4 separate regions of the Homo sapiens genome follow, and all the other regions are linked to region 4. The links are contacts of gene promoters, found by promoter capture Hi-C in blood cells and fetal thymus (Javierre and others, 2016). All regions are on one chromosome and are shown on one strand. The core of a region is centred on a gene start or on the middle of the fragment in contact, and the rest is flanking DNA. Distances in the headings are between cores, read along the strand shown.

Region 1 (7,008 bases), core at 4,509-7,008, 170 kb before region 4:
AAATTATCTTCACCCCCATTCCCTTTATTTCAACTAATCAAGGATTGACAGTATTCACTTTCATACTGAGATGTAACATTTTTATATATAATAAAGATTTTTTAATTTGTTTATGAGCAAGGGTTATCAAATTTCCAGTATATATACTTTTCATTCTCTATCACAGATAATTCCACAAAAAAACAAGATCAAATTTATTTTGAAAATGCAATACAATTCTTTGAGCTACAGCAGAGAATATAAGTCAATTTCTGTTGTTAAAAACAAAGCATTTGGGAGGCAGAGGCAAGAGGATCACTTGAGCCCAAGAGTTCAAGATGAGCCTGAACAAAAGTCTTTACAAAAAATAAACATAAAAATTAGCCAGGCATGGTGGCTCATGCTCATAGTCCCAGCTACTTGGAAGGCTGAGATGGGGGGACAGGCTGAGATGGGGGGACTGCCTGAGGCCGGAATGTCAAGGCTGAAGTGAGTCACGATCATACCACTGGCGCTCCAGCCTGGGCGATGGAGTGAGACCCTAAACCATTTTTTTTAAATAAAAATAAAGCAGACATGATTTCCAGAAGACAAAATGTGGAAACGTTTCTCAGAAAAACTGATATGAAAAAGTGCAAAGTTAAAATCAGGAAACAAACTCTAAAGTAAAATCTATGACTTTTATTTTTAGAGAGTCTCGCTCTGTCACCCAGGCTGGAGCTCAATTTTCTTTTTTAACCTTAATAATAAAGTATGTTTGCTTACCCTATTTCCCAGCCTTGGCTCTAAGCTACTTTTAAATTTTTTCAAAAATCCTATCCACAGAAAAGTATAATTTCCACTCTTAACGTACTTGAGTTAATTTTATCTTTTTTACTTGTAGAAGCTTTTAAATGCAACATCTAAGAAGGAGGTCAATGCTTTGAACCATAGAAAAAGTACATGTTATTCTTTGCTATACAACGTAAGGATAAATTTACCTGGATGTCTCTGTTCACCTGATATGCAGTACGCAGCTATTCACTTATACCACAGCTCTTCGTAATAGAAGGTAGCTATAATCCCCTCAACAAAATAACCACTGAGAGACACAGAGAGCGAGAGAGAGAGAGAGAGAGAGACAGATCGAACACCTATGATGCACCTACTTCTAACAATCTCAACTTACCCTGAGATTCTGGTAGCCATATCCAATAAAATGCTCCTCCATTCTAACTGCTCAAATCTCCAAATCCGTGCTGTTCCATCTCTGCTACCACTTAGGAACCTTAAAACATTCAGAACAGGATCTTACTATATTCACACACTTTCCAACAAGGGCTACAATTAAAATCACATGCAAAAAAAGAATGTAATGAAGCTGTCCTAACAACAGGACAATCCACAGGTGTTAATTCAAAAGACAAGGTATTTAGAGCGTATCTGGATGGGAAAAAAAATTTGGTTTGCTATGATTTGCCCGGCCCTATGAAATAAAACACACCTCAAACTCAATCAATAGCTTTTCAAACAGATTAAGTTTTGAAAATACAATGTATAAGAATGCTGAGAAGAGGCAACCTGCAGTGGCTCATGTCTGTAATCCCAGCACTTTGGGAGGCCAAGGTGGGTGGATCACAAGGTCAGGAGTTCGAGATCAGTCTGACCAACATGGTGAAACCCCGTCTCTACTAAAAATACAAAAATTAGCCAGGCGTGGTGGCACATGCCTGTAATCGCAGCTACTCAGGAGGCTAAGACAGGAGAATCGCTTGAACCCAGGAGGGGGAGGTTGCAGTGCAGTGAGCCGAGGCTGCACCACTGCACTCCAGCCTAGGCAACAGAGCTAGACTCCGTCTCAAAAAAAAATAATTAAATAAGAATGCCAAGAAGAAAAAAAAAACAGAAAAAAGTTTTGAAGTATAGGAAAATAAGAGCAATAGCTCCATTTTAAACATCTTACTTGTTAATTCAAATTAATTCATGTTGGACACTGTGTAAAAATAAATCAATCTATTAACAAATTAAGTTCTCAACAATTAGTTTAGCAAAGGGACCTGACACACAATGGAGGCAAAGAAGGAGTATATGATTTAAGTAATAATTTCTTTGCAGGATATATCACGGTGGTTTCTTAGAAAAGTTTTTTTTAACTACCCAAACAAGAAATTTAATGATCCTTACACATAATTTTTTCAGTAAATCAGACATCTAGCCAAAGAAAAACTACTTTTGGTCGCTAGAAGCTGGCAGAAACTACAATTCTAAAAACTTACATTTCATGTGTTCTTCCCCCAACCCCTGCCCTAGACACTTTTCATTCAATTAATACATTTACTAATAAATACCTGCAATATACAAAGTGACAGTTAATTATATATTATTTCAAAATTTCTGAGTAGATTTCAGATGTTCTGACTACAGAAAAATGCTCAGTATGTGAAGTGGCAGAGATGTTTATTGGCTTGATTTAATCATCCCACAATGTAAATATATATTAAAACACCACAGTGTACTTACTCCATAAACATAGACAATTATTAGTCAACTAAAAATAAAAAATAATGGCTGAGCAAGGTGGCTCACGCCTGTAATCCCAGCACTTTAGGAGGGCGAGGCAGGCAGATCACCTGAAGTCGGGAGTTCGAGACCAGACTGACCAACATGGAGGAACCCCGTCTCTACTAAAAATACAAAGTTAGCCGGGCACAGTGGCAGGCGCCTGTAATCCCAGCTACTCAGGAGGCTGAGGTAGAAGATTAACTTGAACCCAAGAGGTGGAGGTTGCAGTGAGCCGAGATTGTGCCACTGCACTCCAGCCTGGGCAACGAGAGCGAAACTCCATCTCAAAAAATAAATAAATAAATAAATAATCATAATAATATAAAGGGAAAAAATACATACAAAATGACAGGTTAGCTATACTAACATGTAGCACATTATATTTGCCTAATAACACACACACACACATACAAAACACACACTTACCGATCACCATTGTTACAAAATTGGATACTATCTACTTTATCCTAAAGGGGGGAAAAGGACAAATACAAAAATGATCATCTACATGGTCTGTGAATTTGAAAAAATGAAGTTTTAATGCTAGAAGCCTATTTGCTTTAACAAGCAAAATTTGCACTTGTGTTGCTTAGCCCTGTCATTCAACATGTTTTATAATTTTAAGTGAAGACTAACTACAAACCTAAGACTACTAAAATACAGCTTTCATTTCAAAGAAAGGCACATCTAACAGGAAAAAAAGCCTTGCTTCTAAACTTAAAGCAGTATTTATAATTACATCTGTTTAAGATGACTTATATGGAAGTGAAATGTGTGGAAAGTGCTCAAAATATAGGCTTTAAAGTAGCTAAAAATAAGGCATTTTCAATTGTTGTTTTAAGTTATTTAAATCTGTATCTATCAAATAACCTCTGGATGTGGACTGCCTTCCCAAAAGCTTCAAATAAAAGAAAAGATGGCCCAACCCTGACCAGTACTTCAGAACACTGACAGTTTTCTATCTTACTATGCATTATTAAAATCACATTCTTATTTCATGGGCTTGGTTAGATAAACAGGCTCACTTAAAGTTAACCCACCCAGATCAACTGTCATAATCAAGATTTTGAACATAAAGCTAAAATAACCACTGTAAAATATTAGGCCTCTCAAGTGCTAATCTGAGTTGCCAGTGACATACCTCCCCTTTAAATATAATTGCTTGTATGCTTAAATTAAAATTAGAATAGAATTAACAAAAACTATATTGTACCTAGACATTTTCATTTTTATAAATATACAAACATCTCTAACAATATTTTAACTGTCAAATAGAATTCAGCAAAAATTTAAGATAACATTCACAAGCAATGACTTATCTCAGAAATGCAACTATGATTTAATATTTTAAAACTTAATACCATCAAAAAGTTATAAATGACAGTTCATTTGTTCAACAGAAAAAAAATTAAAAATAAAAGTAGAGCCAATAACAATGCCCCTTAGCAATAACAGGAATAGTATTAACAATTAATCTAAAGGATTTTAAAACGTGGATGCTTACAGTGTGGCTTTCAAGTTCTGCGATTTTTTCGGGTGCTTCAAAACCCAAAAAATACATTCTGATTACATGATCAGTACTACCTGTGGCTAAAAACATACCACCTGAAATAAAAATGGTAAGGTTTAAACATCCAGTTTATAACAAATACCTGAACAAATCAAATTTCCATATTAAAATATAAAAAAGAAAGATCATTTACCCTAAAACTAAGTTTATCTCAACAGTTACATTTTCTGACTCACTATATAGAGGTTATAAAGCTGAACTTGTAGCTTTAAAAAACAAAATTAATTCAATCTGGAAACATTCACAATCTCCTCCTGTTTTTTTTGAGACAGAATCTCACTCTGTCGCCCAGTCTGGAGCCCAATGGTGTGATCTCGGCTCACTGCAACTTCTACCTCCCAGGTTCAAGTAATTCTACTGCCTCAGCCTGCTGAGTAGCTGGGATTACAGGAGCACACCAGCATGCCCAGCTAATTTTTTGTATTTTTAGTAGAGATGGGGGTCTCACCATGTTGGTCAGGATGGTCTCGAACTCCTGACCTCAGGTGATCCACCCGCCTCAGCCTCCTAAAGTGTTGGGATTACAGGCGTGAGCCAGCTGGTGGGGCGGGGAACATGGTCTCAGTCTGTCGCCCAGGCTGGAGTGCAGTGGTGTGACCATGGCTCACTGCAGCCTCAACCTCCTGGACACAAGCAATACTCCCACCTAGTCTCCTGAGTAGCTGGGACTACAGGTGTGCACCATGCCCAGATAATTTTTGTTTTGTTTTTTTTTAGAGATGGGTTCTCCCTATGTTGCCAGGGCTGGGCTCGAATTCCTGGGCTGAAGCAATCCTCCCATCTCGGCCTCCCAAAGGACTGGGATTACAGGCATTGAGTCACTGTGCCTGGCCTCCCCATCTGTATTATTAAGGGTGGCAATATAATGCCAATTAAGCACCAGCGCTCTAAAAATATTTTTAAGAAAAGAAGTTCTGCTTTCTAAACAATTCTACATACCTAACCCTAGCTTGTTCAAGTTTTCAGATTTTATGAGGGAAAAGTCTTTGACCTATCCGAAAAAAGAGAAAGGTTACCACACAAGTTCACTGTACAAAAACTGAAAAAGAATAATTTCATCAAGATATTATGTGTGGGAAATAAATTTAAACTATCAAACATACACAGTTTAGCCTATTCAAAGAAAATCACAAATTTAGATTATCATACACATAGTACTGGCATAGGAATCACTTGTGTGGACACCTCAAGCCTCCCTTTTACCAGCCATCTCTTATATCACTGATTACTACCAGAAATCAGAGAAAGGCAGACTGGAGGACTGGAAGAACAAGGCTAACAAAATAAACATCATAAATTGAACCTAATGAAATAAACACCAGAAGTCATTTACCATGTAGCTAATAAAAGTTCTTAGCAACCAAGTGGTCATTTAATAGATGTTTAAAAAAAAAAAACTAAGAAAAAAATGTGAAGAAGTTCTTACCAACACTAAAAGAAGAACAAAGCATTTGAACGCCTGGCCTAGGCTTTTCAGTGAACTTCAGGGGACGTGGGCTTTAAAAGAAGAAGATGCTGCTTTAAAATAGATTATTTTACCACATTAACACAGCTTAAAATATTAGTTTTAATCTAGCATATTTAAATATTATAATTTTTTAAGAGACAGGGTCTCGCCATGTTGCCCACACTAGACACAAACTCTTGGGCTCAAGGGACCCTCCAGCCTCAGCCTCCCTAGTGGCTGGGGACCACAGGCACACAACACCCAGCTATAATCTTATTTCTATAATACCTTATTGTATATCAAATATTTCCACAGATTTCCATGTATTTTTACAAAATATAAAAAGATCAAATTAATCATATTTCCTTTAACCCAATACACCCAAAATATCAACATGTAATCCAAATCAATAAAATTATAAGATACTTTCATATTAAGTCTTTGAAATTTTCCAGTGTGTATTTGAGACTCAAAATACATCTCAATTTGACAACTCAATTTTTAACAAAAATATTTTATCTATATTTGGATTTCCCAAAACTCATTGAAAATTTCACATACTCGTTATTCAAGATATGCTTAATTTTCTAACAGGCCAGGCGTGGTGGCTCACGCCTGTGATCCCAGTACTTTGGGAGGCCAAGGCGGGTGGATCACCTGAGATCAGGAGTTTGAGACTAGCCTGGCCAACCTGGTGAAACTCCATCTCTACTAAAAATACAAAAATTAGCTGGACGTGGTGGCGGGCACCTGTAATCCCAGCTACTCAGGAGGCTGAGGCAGGAGAATCACTTGAACCCAGGAGGCAGAGGCTGCAGTGAGCCGAGATCACGCCATCACACTCCAGCCTGGGCAACAGAGTGAGACTCCATCTCAAAAAAAAAAAAAAAAAAGAAAAAAAAAAAGAAAACGAAAACAAAAGGAAAAAAAATGTTTTAATACATTAATCAATTGTAAGTTTTAAATTTAAATTATCAATTCAGTTCCTCAATTGCACTAGCCACATTTAAAGTGCTCAACGATCATATATGGCTAGTGACTACTGTATTAGACAGCACAGGTATACAATACAGGTCTTATGACTCTCAAATGTTCCTGCCTGAATTTCCAATTATATACCTATTATTTTAAATGCCTTACTTTGTCTTTGCAAAAATGTGCTAAGATAGAAAAGCTATGCTTCTTTTACAAATCCTGCTATCTACATAATTATAAATAGGAAATAGTCAATATGGCACATATGCTGTATATAATAAAAATTAAGTTCAAAGGTTAAAAAAAAGCAACAATACACAATTTCTCATAACAATAAAACTTCATTTCATTAGATTAAACTGTAACTACATTAAAAAACAAAACCTGTTACATAATTAAAGCCACTTACCTAAATTTTAAGGATTCTAAATCCCATTGCCAAAAGCAAACTGTCCCATCAGCACCAGTGGAAACCATGTATCTTTGAGAGCCTTTG
Region 2 (7,270 bases), core at 1,076-3,575, 240 kb before region 4:
CAAAAAGGTTCCTGCTCCTATGAAAATCGAATGCCCCCACGGATCTGACAGCAGACAGAACTCAGGTGGTAATGCTTGTTTGCCAGCCAATCACATCCTACTGTGTGGCCCAGTCTACACAGGGAGCAGGTGCTGGGGACTCCGACTCTATATTAAAGAGCCAATTCTTATGCAAAATACAAATGACACTTTAAATAATCCTTAATAAGATTTGAAAAAATCTATAATTTTACATATTTATAGAATTACAAACCAATACAACAGCTCTATATTCACAGAAATGCTTTCAAGCTATAAAACCCATGACTAGTCTTTTCAGAATGTACAGTACTCTAAAGATTAAATAACACAGTCTTAAATTTTTAAAAAAATGCATACAGGCTGGGCGCAGTGGCTCACGCCTGTAATCCCAACATATTGGGAGGCCAAGGTGGAAGGATCTTGATCCCAGGAGTTCAAGACCAGCGTGGGCACCATAGCAAGACCCCATCTATACAAAAAATAATTTTTAAAAATTAGCCAGGCTTGGTGACACACCCCTGTTATCCCAACTACTCGGGAAGCTGAGGTGAGAGGGACTGCTTGAGACCAGAAAGTTGCAGCTGCAGTGGTCATGATCATATCACTAGACCCCAGCCTGGGCAACATAGTGAAACCCTGTCTTAAAAAATAAATAGGGCTGAGCGCGGTGGCTCACACCTGCAATCCTAGCACTTTAGGAGGCTGAGGCAGGCGGATTGCCTGAGCTCAGGAGTTCGAGACCAGCCTGGGCAACACGGTGAAACCCTGTCTCTACTAAAATACAAAAAATTAGCCAGGCATGGCAGCATGTACCTGTAGTCCCAACTACTCAGGAGGCTGAGGCAGGAGAACTGCTTGACCCGGGAGGCAGAGGTTGCAGTCAGCCAAGATCATGCCACTGCACTCCAACCTAGGTAACAGAGAGAGACTCCGTCTCCAAAAATAAATAAAAAATAAATAAATAGGCTGGGCGTGGTGGCTCACACCTGTAATCCCAACATTGTGGGAGGCCAAGGTGGGTGGATCACCTGCGGTCAGGAGTTCGAGACCAGCGTGGCCAACATGGTGAAACCCTGTCTCTTCTAAACATACAAAAATTAGCCAGATGTGATGGTGTGCGCCTGTAGTCCCAGCTACTTGGGAGGCTGAGGCAGGAAAATCACTTGAACCCGGGAGGCAGAGATCATGCCACTGCACTCCAGCCTGGGTGACACAGTGAGACTCTCTCCAAAATTAAATAAATAAATAAAGCAAGCTTGCCATAACCAGTTTACCTGATACTTTTGTTAGGCTGACTGTCACCTTTACAATTTTGCCGTTGCTTGAACCTCTGGCTTCTTCGAAGTTTTTCATTGAATTTTTGACCAATTTTAAAATCAGAAGAGATTTTCTTCATTTTTTCTTCAAATAAGGCAGATAATCTCAAGGTCATACTATAAATCTGCAAGGATATAAAAACAAAGTAGAATTACAAAATAGCCTTAAAAGTACTTAAGAAATAATTGTAATCATTGAGATCCCTTGCAATGTATTATATCACTGCTTATAGGTAATGGCTGTCACCCACTTCTTCTGTTTCCAACCCCCTTCCCTTAATGACATCTGGAAGTAAGAAGTATCAAATACATACCTCTCAGATGATAAGAAAGTAGTTTGAAGTCAAGCATCTATATTCAGGACTTGTGTCTATATGTCAGTGAATCTCAACTGTTTTTGCCTATTCTAACATCTGTATGTACAAACCCCAAAATATACCCTTCTCCCAAAGTTAGATGGGAAGTTGAATGGTTTTAAGGCTGCTATTTAGGCTACAAAAGCGCTGTCTTTCTTTGGGGCAAGGGAACAAAAGCACTTTTATATACCCATCTCTGTCTGCAATCTGTTTTCAATGCCACCTAATTCTAAAAATGAAACAAAAATACCTTGCATCCAGTAGCAGAAAGTATAACCTAGAACGTTAATGCATATGAAAGATTTGTTTTAACAATGTTTACAATTAAATAACATCAAATCTTAAATACTTTTGGATACAGCTATGTATGTACAGAACTACTCTATCCTCCTCCACGACTTTTCCTGAAAATAAGTGCAAAAGTCTAATGCTCAAAACTTAAATATAATTCTTGTGCATGGCAGTGGATGGCGAAGACACTCCAATACCAGAAAACTTTTTTAAAAAGTATGTGAGATATACGAATTTCTTACATGCTTCTCATATACATATATATATGCTCACAAATGAATGTGAAATTTGTTATACTTAATCTGAAATGATCTTTGACAGTTATTTTCAGTATTTCATATATATAAATTTTATTCTGCCAGGCACAGTGGCTCATGCCTATAATCCCAGTACTTTGGGAGGCCGAGGCAGGCAGATCACTTGAGGTCAAGGGTTCAAGACTAGCTTGGCCAATATGGTGAAACCCCATCTCTACTAAAAATACAATAATTAGCCGGGCATGGTGGCGCAAGCCTGTAGTCCCAGCTACCCGGGAGGCTGAAGCAGGCAAATTGCTCAGGAGTTGGAGGTTGCAGTGAGCCAAGATCTCACCACTGCTCTCCAGCCTGGGCAACAGAGTGAGACAGGCTCAAAAAAAAAAAAGAAAAAAAAGAAAACACACACACACACACACACACACACACACACAAACAAAACTCCAAAAACAACAAGTGTTGGCAAGGATGTGAACAAACTGTGGCTTTTATACACTGCCAGCGGGAATGTAAAAAGGTGCAGCCAATATGGAAAACAGTGTAGTGGTTCCTGGAAAAGGTAAACATGAATTATCCCATGACCCAGCAATTCTACTCTTAGGTCTATACCCAAGGGAATTGAGCAGGGTTTCTGAGAGATACGTGTATTCCAAAATTTGCTGCAGCATTACTCGTAATGGTCAAGAAATAGAAACAGCCGAGCTGGCCATCGATAGATGAATGAATAAGATATGGTATAACCACACACTTTAATATTATTCAGCCATAAAATGGAATAAAGTTCTGATACATGCTACAACATGCATAAGCCTTTAAGGCATTACACTAAGTGAAATAAATAAGCTGGACACAAAGGACAAATATGGTAAGATCTCAATTTTTATATGAAATTATCTAGGACAGGCAAATTCAGACACCGAAAGTTAGAGGTTTCCAAGGACTGGGGGTGAGGGGAAATTACTGCTTGATGGTTACAGAGCTTCTGTGTGGAATGATGAAAAGGTTTTAGAAAGATTATAAACGATGCCACTGAATTGTACTCATAAAAATGGCTAAAATGGCAAATGTTATGTTATATATAGTTAACCATAGTTTTGAACAACTGACAATGTACTATACCAAAAACCACTGAACTATAAGCTTTCAATGGTGAACTGTATGGTATGTGTCCTCAAACATGTATTTGAGGGGCGCAGGGAAGACTTGAATGAAATTTATTTTGTCGCTGAAAAAAAACAGTCTTACAAATGGTGACTTTGACAAAAATCCAAGCTTGGAAACGTTAGCCTTGAACGTTAAACTGATCCAGCAAGCAGTGTGGATCCTGAATCCAAGAAAGAGTTCTCAAATTGAGACCAGAGGCAGTAATGCAGGAGGAGTCTAATATTAAGTAATGACAGGGAAATGCAGTTAAAGCAAAACAGTTAAATGTCACTGATTGTAGACACCAAAAAATGTTGTAAGATCAAACAAGTATTTTACTTTAAATATGACTTTTTACAATTATTCAACACATGAGCTACCTGGAGTCTTGCTCTGTTGCCCAGGCTAGAGTGCAGTGGCATGATCTCAGCTCACTGCAACCTCTGCCTCCCAGGTTCAAGTGGCTCTCATGCCTCATTTCAAGCGGTTCTCATGCCTCGTGCCTATAGGTGGGATTACAGGCAAGCGCCAACACGGGCTAATTTTTTTATCTCTAGTAGAGAAGGGGGCTCACCATGTTGACCAGGCTGGTCTCGAACTCCTGACCTCAAGTGATCTGCCTACCTTGGCCTCCCAAATTCCAGGGATTACAGGCCTCATCAAGTTTTGAAAAGTTACCCAATGTGTAACATGTTAACAAAACTTTAGTAACCTTCTACTGAAACTGCATGCCCCAAAGAGTTAAAGAAGTCAATTAACAAAAATTCTTAAGTTTACAAAATGACAAAAAAAAAAAAAGAAAGAAAGAAACCCAACCTACTATAAAACACTAAAACTCCCTCTGCTTATGAGATAAGAAGAACTGGCTGAAACTGGTTAAAACCAGTATGGCCAAGTGGAGTCTGCAAAGAATGAGCCTGCTGACATCAGAGCCTGAATTTCCAGCATGCTTCACACTAACTTCCCCCAAATTTGCACACGCAACCCATCAGATAACATAAAGAAATAACTATACATGCCCAAAGACTTTCCAGACCTCTCCTTTCCTTCCATTAATCACCTGCTAATCTCAGAATCCATGCCCTGAACCTTTTCTTTAAAAAAAAATAAAAAATAAAAATACTGCTTTAAAGCCAGCACCGGAGTCAGATTTGAAATTCACTCCTGTCTCCTTAGGAGTCAACTTTCAATATAAAGCTTATTCTCAAAAACCCAGTGTCACCACTTCACTTGAGTAGGCTAGAAAAAAAAAAAAAAGAAAAAGAAAAACCCTGTGTCATAATATTAGCTTCTAACACATCAAGCAAAGAGCCTCCACTGGCTCTGTAACATTATTTGTGGTCTTAATCTGATAGCTCATGTGTTCCTTCTTCAAATCCAAATGTTCTTATGCTGTCAGCAGTCTCACAATCAGATTTTCCTTTTTACTTTTAATATTCTTACAGTCTCGATCTATGTTTCCAATCCACTTAAGATCCTTATACATACAAAACACAGAGACTCTTACTCTGTGTATCAAATTTGTTCACTTTCTATTGATGCCTACTCCCATTAATCCCCACTTGCTTATAAAATTTGAGGAGATTATGATAAACATCAACTGATGAAAGGCAAAAACTGAAGCTATATGAGCAGTAGCAGAAGCTCTTTTCTTTATAATAGTCTTAATTTATTCACTTATCTTTAATGTTCTAACCTCTATTACACAGTGGAAAATTACACTGGAAAAAATTACTATTACATTGGAAAATTATCTACACAGATCAGGCAGTTTTTTTCAATAAACCACATAAAAAATTACCTTTGATCTTTTGTTTGGTGTATACGCTTTTGCATTGCTAAATATCAGCCGGATGTCTTTGCAAAACTCCAAAGGGCTGTCATAATTTCCCGCATCTAGAGTTTCCCTTACTGTTCCAAAATCCATTGGGGTATCTATAATATCTCTGTAGTCCTAGGTTTTAAACACAATATTTAATTCATAGATTCATTTCTTGCTTTTAGAAATGTAAATGCATCAGATCTCTAAAAAATGTGAAATGATGGAAGAGAGGAAAAGGTTAGAGGACTCTTAAAATTCATTAGTAATGTTTAAAAAGAGGTATAAAAACAAAGAAAAGATAGAAATATACCAAAATGTTAATGTCTATTTATTGTTAGTGACACATGGGATGGTTTTATTTCCTGCTGTATGTACTCCAAGCATCCTACAGTCACTCTGTGCTGTTATAATCCAACTTTTTTTATAAAGTCATCTTTCAATTTCCCTTTTTAAAGAGTGCAAACAGACACGTTTATCCAATTCACAGTTCTCCTAGTGCTGGGCCTACTTAGATAGAAATCTAAGTAGATCCATCCCACTGTTATGTAATACTGATTATCTAAGTCTAAATTCTTAAATGAGCTCACAAGGGTGTCTATAAATTGAAGAAAACTATGTAAAAACAATACTTCTACCACTAACTTAGTGATAGGAGCAAAAAAGTTAACATAAAGCCTGGGTATCTTTCTCTTTAAAGTTTAATAACTCTACCCCAGTTTCCTCACTGCAAAACAAGAAAAGCCCCAAACATTTAAACAATGGAAACTTACTGGATATTCAACCAAATCAACAGGTTGTCTAAATGGTTCAGAATCTTCACACTGAAAAATTAAGTTCACTAGTTCCTTACACTGTTTCTTCCAGTTGCTTTCAACATAGTTCGTAGCTCTGATGCTTTTTTTCCCATCATGGACCTAAAAATACATTCACAGTCTTAAGAAAAATCACACTATTGGTGTAAGACTGTGGTAAAAATGTAACTGATCTACTGTCTTCTATAAAAATACAATAATGTCATATATGTTGCTCTCAACACATTTTTCCAGAAATGAAATTTTTAAACTATGCATGAAACGTAAGTTATTTTCATATAACTTAACCAATTTCAGAAATATTACAAAGTTAGCTATGAAAAGCATACTCTAACAAGAGCACATTATCTAGTGAAAGGCTATTCCATGACCTCTCACCTCCCAGGTTTATAATATTTGTTTTCGCAGAATATGAAGCACATCTGATAATATGATAGGCAGAATAATGGCCCCACCAAAGATGTCCACATCATAATCCTCATAACCTATGACTATGTTGCCTTACATGAGAAAAGGTATTTTGCATTAAGGGTATAGACCTTGAGATGAAAGATTATCTTGAATTGATTGCTTGGACCCAGTATAGCCACAAAAGTTATTATAAGAGGGAGGCAGAAAGGTCAGAGTCAGAGAGAGACTGAAAAATGCTACATTGTTGGCTTGAAAGATGGAACAAGGTGACCTGGAGCCAAGGTGAGGACACCCACTAGAAGCTGGAAAATGCACATAACTCTCCCTGGAGCTTCTGGCCACACCAAGACCATGATTCTGACCTAGAGACCCATGAAAACTTCTAATCTACAGAACTATCAGGTAATACATTTTTATTATTTAAGCAACTAAATTTGTCATTTGCTGCAGCAGACATAGCAAATAAATACAAATACTAAACACTTGGGAGTCTAGAAATAAAATTAAACGAAAATGACTAATCAAATTAGAGTATTTTAGGTATAACTTTTCAGTGTTCTGGAAGGCAAGCACATGGTATAAATTAATATTTCATAAAAAGCTTAAATTTAAGGAGCATTTGGAGGAAATTTAAAATGATCTGGGCTAAAATGTCTTAAGCATTTTCATATTAATAACCTTTAATTTTAATTACTCTATATTTGAACTTCAAAGCCTGCCGATACTCCATTATGATTACCCACTTTCATAAACTTAGTTCCATAGACCCTTCTCCTTACCCCTCAACCTCATCATCCCAACATATCTCCATTGTTAAAAAAAGTTCAGTCACCAAATCCTAGTT
Region 3 (6,853 bases), core at 3,389-5,888, 220 kb before region 4:
GCCTCAGCCTCCCAAGTAGCTGGGATTACAGGCACACGCCACCATGCCCGCCTAATTTTTTGTATTTTTAGTAGACACAGGGTTTCACCATGTTGGCCAGGCTGGTCTCGAACTCCTGATCTCAGGTGATCCATCTGCTTTGGCCTCCCAAAGTGCTGAGATTACAGGCGTGAGCCATGGCGCCCAGCCAGGAGTTAAGTTTAATGCAGGGTTACATGAGAAACGACAGCAAGCTATTAAGGTACAGCCAAAATCAAGCTGGAATCTAAGGTCAAGAATTAACAAAACAGATAAACACGATGCTGTTGTCTTCTTTCAGTAAAGTTCAGTTACTGTAATAATTTGAATATATTGATCATAGAATACAAATATGTTTGTTCCATGTGCACTGGCAAATGTACATATTATAAAAATAAAATGTTTTCATTATTTAACAAATATATATACCATTATCAGGAATTGGTTCCATGTCCCATGGGCTAAGTTTTTCAATTTCAGTATTATCCCACCTGTTAAAAAACAACAAATCTCTGGTTAGCCTTTCATAAAAACAAAATGTGGATAATAGGTATCCATTATAAAAATACAAAATGTGAAAATTAACCTCACTGCAGCAGTACAATTTTAAATATTAACAGTAAATTTTTTTAAGAAGGATATATTATTAAAATAACAGGTTTAAGAACAAAACCAGAAATCCTATGTGGCCTGCACCCAAAGTGAACAATAACTGAAAGACAAGGCATGAAGCCCTTGAATTCCACTACAGCCACAGTCAATGGTTTTTATCCCATTGCCAATGAAGAGGCGTCAAAGGTTTCTTTGAAGAAGATTAATGATATAGTATCTGCTTCTGAACTAGGACACTGACAATACGAGGTAAAGGAAATATTAGGTGGCTACAGAAATAGTTCCAGGAAAGCAAGCAGAACCTGAACCAAGGGGAGTACTGGTGAATAGGAAACAAAGAGTAGGTGCATGTCTGAGAGACATTTCGGGTCAGCCTGACATGACTTAATGACAGATAAAAACCATGTTTTTTTAAAAACCAGAAATGTATTATTTATACAGCAACCTGCCACACTGAATTACTGGGAAATGATTAGTTTTCATCTGTATACAAACCTAACAATATAACACTGGAAATGACTATCAGGATACTGTGGTTGATATGGCTCTTGACTTAACACTGTTCCAAACCACCAAGCATCATCAATAATAGAGCGGAATCTGTCACCTAGGAGAGAAATGATCAAGTCTGAGGCATTTCTCTGCTAACATTCATTAACATTTTTTTAATCTACAAAATACCATATGATACAGATAAAAAAGCCAAAAGCACAATACAAAAACAGGCAAGCAGCGCTCCTAAACAAACCAAGAAAAATATGGCATAAAAAATTTAACTTTTAGATTAAATGCATTTCTAGATGTATTTTACAACTCTAACACTTCAACCAGTGAAATAAACTGCACTAGATCTGTGTTTAACATTCATTACAATAGAAACATGAACTGCTGCAGTAACCATATCTCTTCCTTCTTACCCTTCCCACCATTTACAAAACAAAACCAATGAAACAATAAAAGTCACCTATCCAGCACTGATGATTCTTCGGGATATAGATCAACAGTTCTTTTCTCAAGGAAAGTTTTATAGAAATAATCAAAATTAAAGCTACAATTTATCCCCAAGAAAGAATATAATATACCTGGCAAACAGTCTTGAATAATTAAAGTATGCTTACAGTGAATTCTTCAAAGGTTTGAAAAAAAATAATGCCATAACTACTAGACCTACATGTTTTAGTCTTTAGCATATTTTCAAACTTATGTAAACATGAGTTTTACATATATTTTACTTCAAAATCACTTGAAACCATAGCCCCTGAAAGAAATCTAAGGAGACTAGTATAGCTTTAAACTTACAATTTAAGACAAACCACACCATGATTTTATCCAAATCTCTAATACCCTAATTTAACATAAACATTAATTACAACTGAATGTAATAATAATAAATTATTGTCATAAAATCAGCTGCCTCAATTTTGAGAGGCCAAACATAAAAACATGTTAGAAGAGAGTCTTTGATATAAAAAATTAAGTGTATATTTTTCTTGCTATTTACCTAATACTAGAAGATAATTTCAGTTTAGATAAAAATATTTCTTCATACAAAAACAACCCTTTAAATAAAAAGGAGCCTGAAAAAATTAAGTTTTCTCATAATAAAAGTGTCTTTTCTATGTTTTTGCTAGCTGATCACCCTGGTAATCTTATGTTAAGGCTTTTCAAATAAACCTACTTTGGCCTTTCAAGAGAAGGATAAAAATCCACTGTAAAAATGAAAACAAGCAACTTCTTCTTGCCATACTACTCAAATTCCACGCAAAAATGGGGAAGCAAAATGAATTAAAGTGTAGTATAACAGGTCTGGTCCAATAATTTCTCAACCACAAAAATAAAACAAAAACCACTAAATTACAGGAGGCATCTGGGACTCCATCTCTAGAGTTTAACTGTAGATAATTCAGTTTTAAAAAAATTAATGGACATGTTGGCAAAAATGAGAGCCTCTTACACCTCATGGGAGCTGAAAAATCATAATAGCTGGGAAGCTTTAAAGTTATTTGGAACACAACTATACAACCTGCTAATGTTGCTTCATGTTATTTTTGTGGCTGTATGTTTTTCTTCAAGAAAAATTTTCTCTGCATCTACTCCCAAAATAATCTTGATTACTTGTGTAGATGTTACCAGGAGAATAATCTATAAAGAGGAGCCACACGCCCTGACAATCTTTCACGTCAGATGAGGATGATTAGGGACTTTATCTAAAATTTACCTTCTTGTAGTACCACACAAAAAGGCAGCAGTGGCCAGATATGGTGGCTCACACCTGTAATTCCTACACTTTAGGCAGGCTGAGGCAAGAGGATTGCTTGAGCCCAGGAATTCAAAACCAGCCTGGGCAATACAGCAAGACCCTGTCTCCACAAAAAAAATTAAAAATTAGCTGCACATGGTGCAGCTTCCAGAATTTACATGTTTGTATGCACTATAATTAAGAGTCCCACAGCCAAAAAGGAGGCTGAGGTGGGAGGATCGCTTGAGCCCAGGAAGTTGAGGCTGCAGTGAGCTCTGATTGCACCACTGCCCTTCAGCCCGGGCAACAGAGCAAGACCTTGTGTCCAAAAAAAGAAGGAAAGAAAGAAAGAAACTGCAGTAACTAGAAAGATCAATGTCTTAACATCATTTATGAATGTGTACACCAGATGACACAGCCTGGGTAAAACTTAGTATTTCTAACAAAAATCCAAGAACTGATAAAAGAACGAACCATCCTACTTCTAACTCAATACACAAGCTCCCTGGATAGCATTACACACTGAACATATATTTGTACACCTGTGAAAACAGGTACTACAGTTACTATTAACAGTTGCTATTACTACCCAGCCTAATGACAGTCATTCAATCATCAATTATATCCTGAGATTAATAATCTACACAACTCTGAATAAGTGAGCCCTCCTTAAATGATCATCACAAAAATCACATTCGAGTAATTTAGTACCTACATTGAGGTACTAAAATTACTCCAATGTGTAATTTTACTCGAATGTGTAAAATTACATTGAGGTAATTTTAATTTTTTAATTTTTCTGCCCACCTATACATTACATGGTTATAAAGCAAAGTGTATATGAATTTTTTATTTCTTAACAAAACAGTGTCAAGTCTTCCCATTTAAGTCTACGTTGTTATGATATCAAGGGTAAAATAATTGGGTATACCAGAACATTTTCAGTGTGAAATCTGAAATTACTCTTCAACCTTCTGATCATTTTAGATCCTAGTATAATTGTGTAAATTATGCCAATGTTACATCAAAGATAATTATATACAATATAGTACAGGGAAGTCTAAAAGGAAGTAAGTCTACCCTAGCCTATAGTCAAGGAGTGAAAATAATCTTTTCCAAACGTCATGAACCAAAAGAACAGAAGAAAAGTTGCTCGTCTAAAAAAGTCTACATAATAGGGCTGGGCACGGTGGCTCACACCTCTAATCCCAGCAGTTTGGGAGGCAGAGGTGAGTGGATCATGAGGTCAGGAGTTCGAGTCCAGCCTGACCAACATGGTGAAACTCTGTCTCTACTAAAAATACAAAAATTAGCCGGGCGTAGTGGCGCACACCTGTAATCCTAGCTACTCAGGAGGCTGAGGCAAGAGAATCGCTTGAACTTTGGAGGCAGAGGTTGCAGTGAGCTGAGATCACACCATTGCACTCCAGCCTGGGTGACCTAGGGAGAAAATGCGTGCCATGCCCACCGTCCCCCGGCCCCTACCAAGAAAGTCTGCATAATCAGTAAGTACCAAGCCGTAAGCAAAATATATTTATAGGTCACTTATATCTCTTCTGGAATTTACATGTTTGTATATACTATAATTAAGAGTCCCACAGCCAAAAAGGTAGACCAATAAAACAGATTAATTTTTAAGGGTATATAAAACTTAGTAAGGATAGACTTACAAGACTGCCAATTCCTCTGTCTTGCTTCATCATAAAATTGACGCAATACAAGAAAGTCAATAACATCTGGCATATCATGATATCTAGACAAAAATTTAAAAAATTGTTAAACTCTCTACATAGCAGGTTATATAGTCTAAAAGCAGCACTGTCCAAAAGAAACATGAGATCTACGAATGTAATTTTTAATTTTCAACCAGCTATATTTTAAAAGGTAAAACAGTAAACTTCATAGCATATTTTAAATATATCCAAAATATTATTTCAATATGTTATCAAAACAAAATAGAGATCTGACATATTTTTTCTTCATAACTACTCTTCAAAATGCAGTGTGTACATTCACAACACATTCATTTCTTTAAAAAAAAATGTTTATGCCTCATACTCTGCCAAGTCACATATTAAGACATTCAATCAAACCATCCATATTTCAAGTGAGCAGTAGCCACATGTGACTAGTGGTAACCTTATTAGACAGCACAGGTGTAGGAAATTATTTATTCTGAATTTTTTCAAAAACAAAGGGCAGAAAAAATTTGGCCCGTATGTCAGAATTCCCCACCCACATAAGCAGCATGAAAACCATATAAAACAGACTGCCCACACTTAACTATAACTGTGACATGCCTACTATGACTTCAGGGTCAGGGATGGGTTTCCTAGCCATCAGAAGCTCGAGCCACATCTTAGGCTATCCACAGTGCTCTACCAGTTACCCTGGAGTTAAATGGGAAGGGCATGCTAATCATTCAATCAGCAAAATGGCAAATTTAAATTTAAGTAATTCCATTTTAAAAAATAATACATACCTAATAGAGAAAGATTTGTCCATAAGTTTTCCAGTTGCTGGATCTATAAATGCTAGTTTTAGGCAACAGAGTGTAGGGGGCCCAACTTCATATCGTATTCCAACTATTTTAACCAATTCTTGATCCTTTAACAGACATATTTTTTAATGGTTAAAATAAAAGCAATTCCTTAATACTATAATTCTCCACATACTGTTATATTAAGTAAACTCATAATTTAGGCTTCCAAACCCGCAGACAAGTTTAATTAATACCATTAATTACATTCAATTTTGCTAAAGTTAATCTCCACATATTTAATACAGTTTCTAATACAAAGAACATCCTTTAGAAAATACATTACAAAAGTGTAAGATTGAAAACACAAATCTCGGATTAGCGCAATATCTAACGACAATCACTGTTAAAAATCTAACATATTTCCTTCTGGCTTTGTTTTGGAAACAGGATCTCACCATGTTGCCTAGGCTGGAGGGCAGTAGCACAATCATGGCTCACTGCAATCTCAAACTCCTGAGCTCAATCAATCCTCCCACATCAGCTTCCCGAGTACCTGGGACTGACTACAGGTACAACATGCCACCACACCAAGCTAATTTTTTATTATTTGTAGAGACAGGTCTCCCTATGTTGTCCAGACTAGTCTCGAACTCCTGGGCTCAAGTGATGCTCCCACAACAGCTTCCCAAAGTGCTGGGATTATAGGTGTGGCCTGCCACACCCAGTCAATGCACATTTTTATTTATATAGCTTTATATTATACAGTGAAAATGTGTAAGCATTCTACTTATTCATAAGTGTTCTTCAAAATCTTGATATTAAGTTTCTGCCTAATACATTCAGTAAGTAATATTTGTTGAGAATCTACCATATGCTATGACCTCTTCTAGGCAGTAGGGACAGGACGGTAAACAAGTGAAAGTCCCTACCTGGATGGAGTATCCATCAAATGGATTTGCCATAGTCAACCTTCCCCCCAGTGTCTGCTTCTCTGATACTAGGAATACAACAGATCATTCATCCACTTATTCACTGAACAAATGTTATTATTATAATGTACCAAACAAAGTGCTAAGCATAGTTTTCATTATTCACAGCAGTTATGTTCTATAGTCACCTAGAACACTGAAATAAAATACTAAATCAGTGCTATAGAGAATATATAGGGATAGGTTCCTGCAAAATTCTGGTCACAACACTGTAGTAAACCAGTGCATACGTAACTTGGTTTTATGCGTGTTTCCGTTTAAAGGTACCTTATTTAATATGTTGTTGATTTGCAAACATTTAACTGATACCTGAATGAAGCTTATCTAACATACCTTCTCCATAAGGCACATCTCAGCCTTCTAGCACTTAAGAACACTAGAGAGCATGTCAGCACTACGCTTAGGGGCCATTTTAAACAGCAAAGTCACCAGAAAAAGCACAAAAATGGAAAACATGTGGCACTGAATAGACCATGAAAAGGACACTTGTTTGCAGTGCGAGAGCTTAAAAAA
Region 4 (6,983 bases), core at 1,973-4,472:
TGCACTTGGGTGTCCACGACAATGAAGAGATGTGAAAGATGCCCAGGAGACAACCTCACCTGGGCTTAAGGATTCACTGGGTGTTGGGGTGTGATAAGGGTCAAGGAGGAATCCTAGGTACAACGGAAGAGGTTCCAGCTGGGGTTGGGAAGTGGGGTTGTTTGGTTTTGTGCATGTTGAATTGGAGGAGACTGAGTGGTATTAAGAAACACTGTCACGCAGCTAGCTGAACGTACGAGTCTAGCTGAGAAAGGGTCAAGTTGGAGAAAGGTAGGAGTCAAGAGCACAGGGCTGGAACTTAAAAGCTGTGCGTGTGAATCTGTGCCTTGTGCTAGATGAAGGGGCGCAATGGAGAATAAAATGGGAACAGATGCCGAGCTTTGAGAATCTCCAATATTAAGGAGCCTGGGAGAGGAGGGTGAGCCAGAATGGCAGCAGGAAAAGCAGAAGAGTCAGGGATGGTCACAGAAGCCAAGGGAAGACAGTGTTTGTAGAGTGAAATGGGGGCAGCAGTTTCAGATGCCGCTGAGAGATTGAGCAAGACAAAGCCTGAAAAAGTCTCATTCCTGGTTTTTGTTTTAGCAGAGATGAAGAGGGAAGCCATACTGGCTGAGGAGTGAGAGACAAATAATAGAGGCATTGAATATGGCAGTTCTTTAAAGTTTGCCTGTCGAAAGGGATAAGGGATTGGACAATAACTGGAAACTGAAGGGGAACGTGGGGTCAAAGAAGATTCTTTTTTTCTCTTTTGTGATGGGAGACTTGAACATGCTTCAAAACCATGGCAAAGAGCCAGCTGAGATGGAACAGGTGATCATACAGGAGAGGGAATGTATACCTGACAGGGTAGAGTTTTTGGCGAGTGGAAAGCGATGGGATCCAAAGCACGGAGAGGGAGTGGCCTTGGTTAGGAGGAGGAAGGAAGGTAGGAACAGATATAAGTAAGGCTTGCAGTTTTGGGAGCTGAAGAATGAGGGGATTCCCATGTGACAGCTTCAAGCTTCTCTATGAAGTGACAGCACAAGGGCGTGGTGGGAGATCAAATCTGAGGAAAATGGTCATTTATGAAATGCAATCTCCTACAGACCCTCAGCTAACCGTGGCAATCCTACTCTGTTACTTTGGTTAATTGGGGTTTTACCTGATGGCAAAAGAGAAAAGATGGGGCTAGGAGTTTAAGAGAGTGGCAAGGGTAGGGCCGGGCGCAGTGGCTCACGCCTTTAATCCCAGCACTTTGGAAGGCCGAGGCAGGCAGATTACCTGAGGTCAGGAGTTTGAGACCAGCCTGGCCAACATGGTGAAACCCCATCTCTACTAAAAATACAAAAATTAGCTGGGCATGGTGGCGTACACCTGTAATCCCAGCTACTCAGGCCGAGGCAGGAGAATTGCTTGAGCCCAGAGATGGAGGTTGCAGTGAGCCGAGATCTTGCCACTGCACTCCAGCCTGGCCGACAGAGTAAGGCTCTGTCTTAAAAAAAAAAAAAACAACAAAAAAAGAGAGATTGGCTAGGGGCCTTAGCTCCTTGAGGGCAGGGACCTGTCACATTGATCGCGGTATCAGCACCCAGGTACTTACTATTCAAAATGATCAGCATACGGATGATCATTTGTCTGCATCTCAGTTTGCCTCTTTTGGTGCTTCTCTAAAAAATAAAAAAGGAAGAGCTTAAACTCCTACATGATTCCTGTCTTTGCGCTGGGAAGAAGGCTCTGGGTTCTTTTGTTCTTCAGGACAGTCCCTTGTAAAGCTCTTGCCATAGTTCTGTTCCAGGGGCACTGTCATATTTATACCTAACAAAGCTAAGGGGTGTCTTTACATTTTTAGCTTGTTAGCAGGATGCTTATATGGCCTTGCTGACCCGGTTTAAAAGTTGCAATTTGCAAAATACATACTGAAAATACTGCACTTTTACCTATGGAAGTTGTAATTTATATAAGGAAATTGTAATTTATATAATCCTTTAAAAAACTTACTCATACGAAATAACAGAGAACGGGGAAATACCATTAAGACTGTCATGCTCAAGTGGGGGAGGGGCAGACTCAGGGAAACCAATTAGGAAGCAAGTAAAATAATCCACGCACCAGATGATGGGGGCCTGGACCAAGGTGGTGACAGTGGCGGTTGAGAGAAATGGTAGAATTGTGAATCTATTCTGGGTGCATTTTGAAGGCAGTGCTGACAGACTGAAGGTGAGGAAGAGAAAAACAGGACTCAAACAGGATGCAAGACTCGGGCAACTGGAGGATGGAATTTCCAGCAACTATGATGGATTAAGATTGTGGGAGGACAGGCTTGGCTTGGGGAATTATTGAGCGCTATCTTGGACGAGCTGTGTTTGAGATGCCGTAGACATCCAAGTAGGGATGTGGCAGGCAGCTAAATGCAGGGATCTGGTGTTCAGGGGAGGGGCGAGGGCTGGGAATGCACACTTGGGGCTCACTGGAATTCAGATAGGCTCTGAGTACAGGCGACTGGATGAGTTCATCTAGGGATTGAGTGTAGACAGAAAAAAGGCTCAAGCTCACATTCAGCCGTGAAAACTGGTCTCTGAAAAAAGTTAACCGTTGGCTTAAGTGTGGCAACGAAACGTTAACACGCTGAGGGGAGGGTGTGGATAAAGAGCCCCGAGGCTGGGTGAGTGGGGGACAAACACAGACAGAGAAGACATTTCAAAAGATTTAGATTCCTACGAGATAGGGAGATGCCAGCGCTAAGGTTAGAAAGAAAAACTAATCCAAAGCAAAACAGCAAGTAAGCAGAGGCAAAATCGGAGGTCAGATAGAAGATTCAGATAGAAAAACCCCAAAGTTCCCTCGGTGGGGCGGCGGTGAGATCGGCCTCCGCCCCCTCGCCAGACCCAGGCGCGGCCCCGGGAGCGCTAGGTCACCTCGGCCCAGGCCGTCCCCCTGCCCAGCGGGCCTGAGAGTACGTGTGTCGCCGGGGCGCCCGGTCACTGCCGAGCCGGGGTAGCTGTTCCTTGGCAAACTGTGCCGCGAGGAGGAAACGGCGGGGCGCCAGCGAGGCAGGCAGGGGCGAGGACTGAGTGACCGGCGATACTGGAAGCCCAGAAAGAGCGTAGCAGGAGGGTCCGGAAGGGCCCAGAGCTGGGGCTGTAACAGGGTAACCGGCTGAGGGGGACGACGGCAGCAGCGGGGCCGTTACCTGCTCCGCGCTGTTCCCACGACTGCGCCAACGCCGCAGCGCCGGCGCGTCCCCATGGAAACCCGCGCGCGGGGCCTCCTGGGAAGCGCCGGCCTGCGGGGGCTGGGCGCGCGCATGCGCACTCGGGCAGCAGGAGCCGCGGCGGGGAGGGGCGTCTTGGGCCTGGAGGTCAGTGTGGCCTCGCGTTTGTCTTCGGTGACGGGAAGTGAGTTTCTTGTGTAGACGTCTGTAAACGATCCTCCTGCCGTCCCTGTTCGGCGCCCGGGACCCTGCCTTCCCGCGTGGCCGCACCGAGACGAGGGAGCCTGTCACGCGCTCTGGCGCTCTCCTGACCTCTTAAGGCTCTGTCAGTCTTAGGTAACTTGAGTCAGTAGGTGGGTGTAGACGCCTGGTCAATTCCTGGGAAGCACAGTTCCCCTATTAACCCCTTGTCATAAAGACGATTTTTTTTTTTTTTTTGTAAAACAAAATCTGATGACAAAACAATGCATGTTTGGCATAGAGAATTTAGAAATGTACAGGCAAGTCCAAAGCAAAAGTCAAAATCACCTAGATGATGGAGTTATAGATGTTTTTTAATGACAGCATAGGAATTTGGCATAATTTAGGAAGACTTACATTGTTTCCTTTTATTTATTTACTTTTTTTCCTGCATCAAAGCCATGTTGAATATCCTTGCAGATGAATCTTTGAGGTCACCCCTGACTGTTTCCTTAGGATAAATTCCTACAAGCGAGGTTGCAGGGCCAAAGCATATGCTCACTTTGAGGCTTTCTAAAGGTAGAGGGAAACTGCCTTCCAGTAAGTGTCCCGATACTTGGCCCGCATTGGAAATTCTCTTTTTTCTTAAAATTTTTTTGCCCATTTTATTGTCAAAAATTGGCATCTTTAATTGTATTCACTTCCTTTTTAGTAGGAAGAATAGACTTTTTCCCATATCTTGAGTGCCATTTGTCCTTATTGTGTGATTTGCATTTTCCTGTCTTTTGTCCATTTTAAAACTTGACATTCATCTTTGTAAAAATGGGTTTTGTAAGGACTTTTGATGCTTGAAAACTTGGCTTGTGATATACGTTGCAAATATTTCCTCAATTTGTCAGTTACCTTTAATTTTGTTTACAGTGTATTTTGGTATTTGTGTAGAGTCAAGCTTATTACATTTCTCTATAGTTTCTGCATTTGGTTTTTATATAAAAGGAGAAACGGGTGTTTTTTTTCAAATTGACTTTAATCCTACTTTGGTAGAAGTGGGTTAGGACAAGCTTTCTCTCCATATCACCATTTCTTCCTCTAGAAATGCATGACCCACCCTGAGTTTTGGTGGGCCATGCATTTCTAGAACTCCTTAGGTAGGGAATTATCCGTATAAGATGGGTGCCGGTTGTTTTTGCTGGTGGTGGTGGGCGGGGCAACATCTCCAGGTAGGCAAACATTAGACAAATGTCACTCTAGACTTGACATTATGGAAAGATGGGCTGATGCTTGGTGGGTGGTGGTGGCCCCATGACAGTAACGAGAGCGGAGTTTTGCCATTGCGGGAGCATCCAACCCTGGAGCTCATGACTGGAGGAATTGAAAGGTAGAGTTTCCTGAGAATGGTTTCCTCCTCTTTTCTACCAGCTTTTCCCAGTCTGTAGACATGATAAGTCACTGCAAATCTGCCCTTGAATCTTTCTTTGCTTTCGCTTTTGCTTTTTTTTTTTTTTTTTTTTGAGACGTATCACTCTATCGCTCAGGCTGGAATGCAGTGGCGCCATCCCAGCTCACCACAACCTCCGCTTCCTGGGTTCAGGTGATTCTCCTGCATCAGCCTCCTGAGTAGCTGGGATTACAGGTGTGAGTCACAACACCCGGCTAATTCTTTTTGTATTTTTAGTAGAGATGGGGTTTTGCGATGTTGGCTAGGCTGGCCTTGAACTCCTGACCTCAAGTGATCTGCCCGCCTCGGCCTCCCAAAATGTTGGGATTTCAGGCATAAGCCACCGTGCCTGGCCTTTGCTTTTGCTTTCGAAGGGGTGTTCTTTTCTGTGTACACAATGGAAGGAGAAGAGCCATGGCCTTTCACTATTCTGGGGCCATCTCCATCATGCCACATAAAAAGCATAGCCTTTATTTCTCTATATTAGGTTCCTAGGTTCCTAGGGATGTCATAACAGACTACCACGAACTTAGGGGCTTAGAACAATAGAACTTTATCTTCTCACATTTCTGGAGGTCAGAAGTATGAAACCAAGTTGTCTGAAAGTCCATGTTTCCTCTGAAGGCTCTTAGGGAGAATTTTTTGAGTCTTCCAGCTTATGGGGACTCCTGCTATTCCTTGGCTTGTGGCAGCACCACTCCAATTTCTGCTTCCATCTTCACAGGGTGTTCTTCTCTGTGTCTCCCTGTCTTGTCTTCTTATAAGGACAACCAGTCATTGGACTTAGGGCCCACCCTAAATCCAGGATGATTTAATCACAAGACCCCCTCAACTGATTACATCTGTAAAGACTCTATTTCCAAATAAGGTTACATGCTGAGGTTTGGCTGAACATGAATTTTGGTGAACAATATTCAACCCACTACAGTTATTATGGTAATCATTTCCATCATTCTACATAATAAAGACGTGTCTTTATTTGTCATTTTAAGTTATCTGTAAAGTTATGTAAATCAAAACATATCATCTGGTATCATTTATCATGAGATCATCTGGGGGTCTCTATGAAGTTTGTAGCCCAGTACCTCATGTCTTTAAATCAAAATTAATCAAATCAAAAAGTGATGTTATTTGACTTGTTAAAATATACTCCAACAGACGGACAAAATGAACTCCTGTTTCCTAAAATGAGATGCACCAAAAACAGAATGTCCTACTCGGGAGGCTGAGGCAGGAGATGAATGTGGGAGGTGGAGGTTGCAATGAGCTGAGATCAAGCCACTGCACTCCAGCCTGGTGACAGAAACAAACAAAAAACAAACAACAAAACAAAACAAAACCTCCAGAATGTCACAGCCAGAAGGATGAGGGGTTAGTTACGTATTTTTGCATTATTAACTGCTATTAAGTAAGCAGAAACCAGCTTCGAAAAAGCATAGCCAACACAACTTCAGCTGGAAAATTTCCAACTGACCCCGATAGACTGCCTGATGCCAGCCAATGGAAACATTCCCTCCCTCAGTATGCGCCCCCACCCCCAAACGCCTTGCAGACCTACTACAACTCCAGTTGGACAAAGGACTGGTCTTATAAACATTCTTTATTGATAAACAGCTGCAGACCTCCAGCCAATTTTGGCCAGCTTATAGAAATTGCACATAAAATGTCTTTGTGCCCTATAGTTCACCTGTTGATATAAAGAGCCAAATTCCATCCCATTTTAATGCTAGAACTCCACCCCAAGGTGAACATGGAATGTATGATACATATATGTTTACCCACTGCACACATGCCTGAATTTCCTCATAAATATTAGTAGATCCTCTGCAACCTTGCTCAGTATGTATGTAAGGCTGACTCTGTAAGACACAGATACCAGCTCCTTCCTCCCTTCTGCAGCATGTGCATTTTTGGTTTTTTCTGTAAGCTGCATTCCCCAATCTGCAGGTTGTATCTCCCCCTAAAAATAAAATCTCCTTTCCTTCCTCCGTGGATCTCCTGGTCTTTGTGAACAGACATAAACAGCAAGCACTGGAGATGTTGAATGGTTGGCTGCTTGCATCTTCACTAAATTATACACCTTCTTTCTGAAGTGGATTTTGTAAGTCAGGGGTTCATTGAGCTTTATTTTAAGATGCATTTGGAATGTTCGCTATTCCTGTTAATTATGTTGAA

The links. The method cuts DNA at HindIII sites, captures the fragments that hold promoters and counts their contacts. A CHiCAGO score of 5 or more calls a contact.
Region 1: a contact is called between a fragment that was not itself captured here and the fragment with the promoter of LCA5L in region 4, in 1 of 17 cell types (naive CD8 T cells). The highest score is 5.1, in naive CD8 T cells.
Region 2: a contact is called between a fragment that was not itself captured here and the fragment with the promoter of LCA5L in region 4, in 4 of 17 cell types (non-activated CD4 T cells, naive CD8 T cells, activated CD4 T cells and 1 more). The highest score is 6.1, in non-activated CD4 T cells.
Region 3: a fragment that was not itself captured here is called in contact with the fragment with the promoter of LCA5L in region 4 in 2 of 17 cell types (non-activated CD4 T cells and total CD4 T cells); the score reaches 5.2 in non-activated CD4 T cells.

What each region holds. Positions count from the first base shown.
Region 1 is chr21:39,273,227-39,280,234 of GRCh38, forward strand. It overlaps BRWD1 (bromodomain and WD repeat domain containing 1), which reads right to left. Exons shown (of 41, transcript NM_033656.4): 9 at 6,922-7,008; 10 at 5,517-5,587; 11 at 4,025-4,125; 12 at 2,947-2,987; 13 at 1,148-1,246. Among named protein-coding and RNA genes, the nearest start is that of BRWD1, 37 kb to the right of the region's middle. The HindIII fragment of the contact is 4,684 bases long and covers 3,417-7,008 here.
Region 2 is chr21:39,204,813-39,212,082 of GRCh38, forward strand. It overlaps BRWD1 (bromodomain and WD repeat domain containing 1), which reads right to left. Exons shown (of 41, transcript NM_033656.4): 35 at 5,974-6,117; 36 at 5,183-5,335; 37 at 1,296-1,462. Among named protein-coding and RNA genes, the nearest start is that of PSMG1, 25 kb to the left of the region's middle. The HindIII fragment of the contact is 2,102 bases long and covers 1,275-3,376 here.
Region 3 is chr21:39,223,961-39,230,813 of GRCh38, forward strand. It overlaps BRWD1 (bromodomain and WD repeat domain containing 1), which reads right to left. Exons shown (of 41, transcript NM_033656.4): 26 at 5,352-5,476; 27 at 4,540-4,622; 28 at 1,126-1,237; 29 at 448-509. Among named protein-coding and RNA genes, the nearest start is that of PSMG1, 44 kb to the left of the region's middle. The HindIII fragment of the contact is 4,038 bases long and covers 2,620-6,657 here.
Region 4 is chr21:39,442,556-39,449,538 of GRCh38, forward strand. LCA5L (lebercilin LCA5 like) reads right to left here and starts at 3,223. Exons shown (of 11, transcript NM_152505.4): 1 at 3,170-3,223; 2 at 1,580-1,646. All of the region lies in intron 8 of GET1-SH3BGR (GET1-SH3BGR readthrough), which reads left to right. It overlaps MIR6508 (microRNA 6508), which reads left to right and starts at 4,455; the gene lies at 4,455-4,514. It also overlaps a transcript of SH3BGR not described here. RefSeq lists a silencer at 3,134-3,393. The HindIII fragment of the contact is 3,319 bases long and covers 999-4,317 here.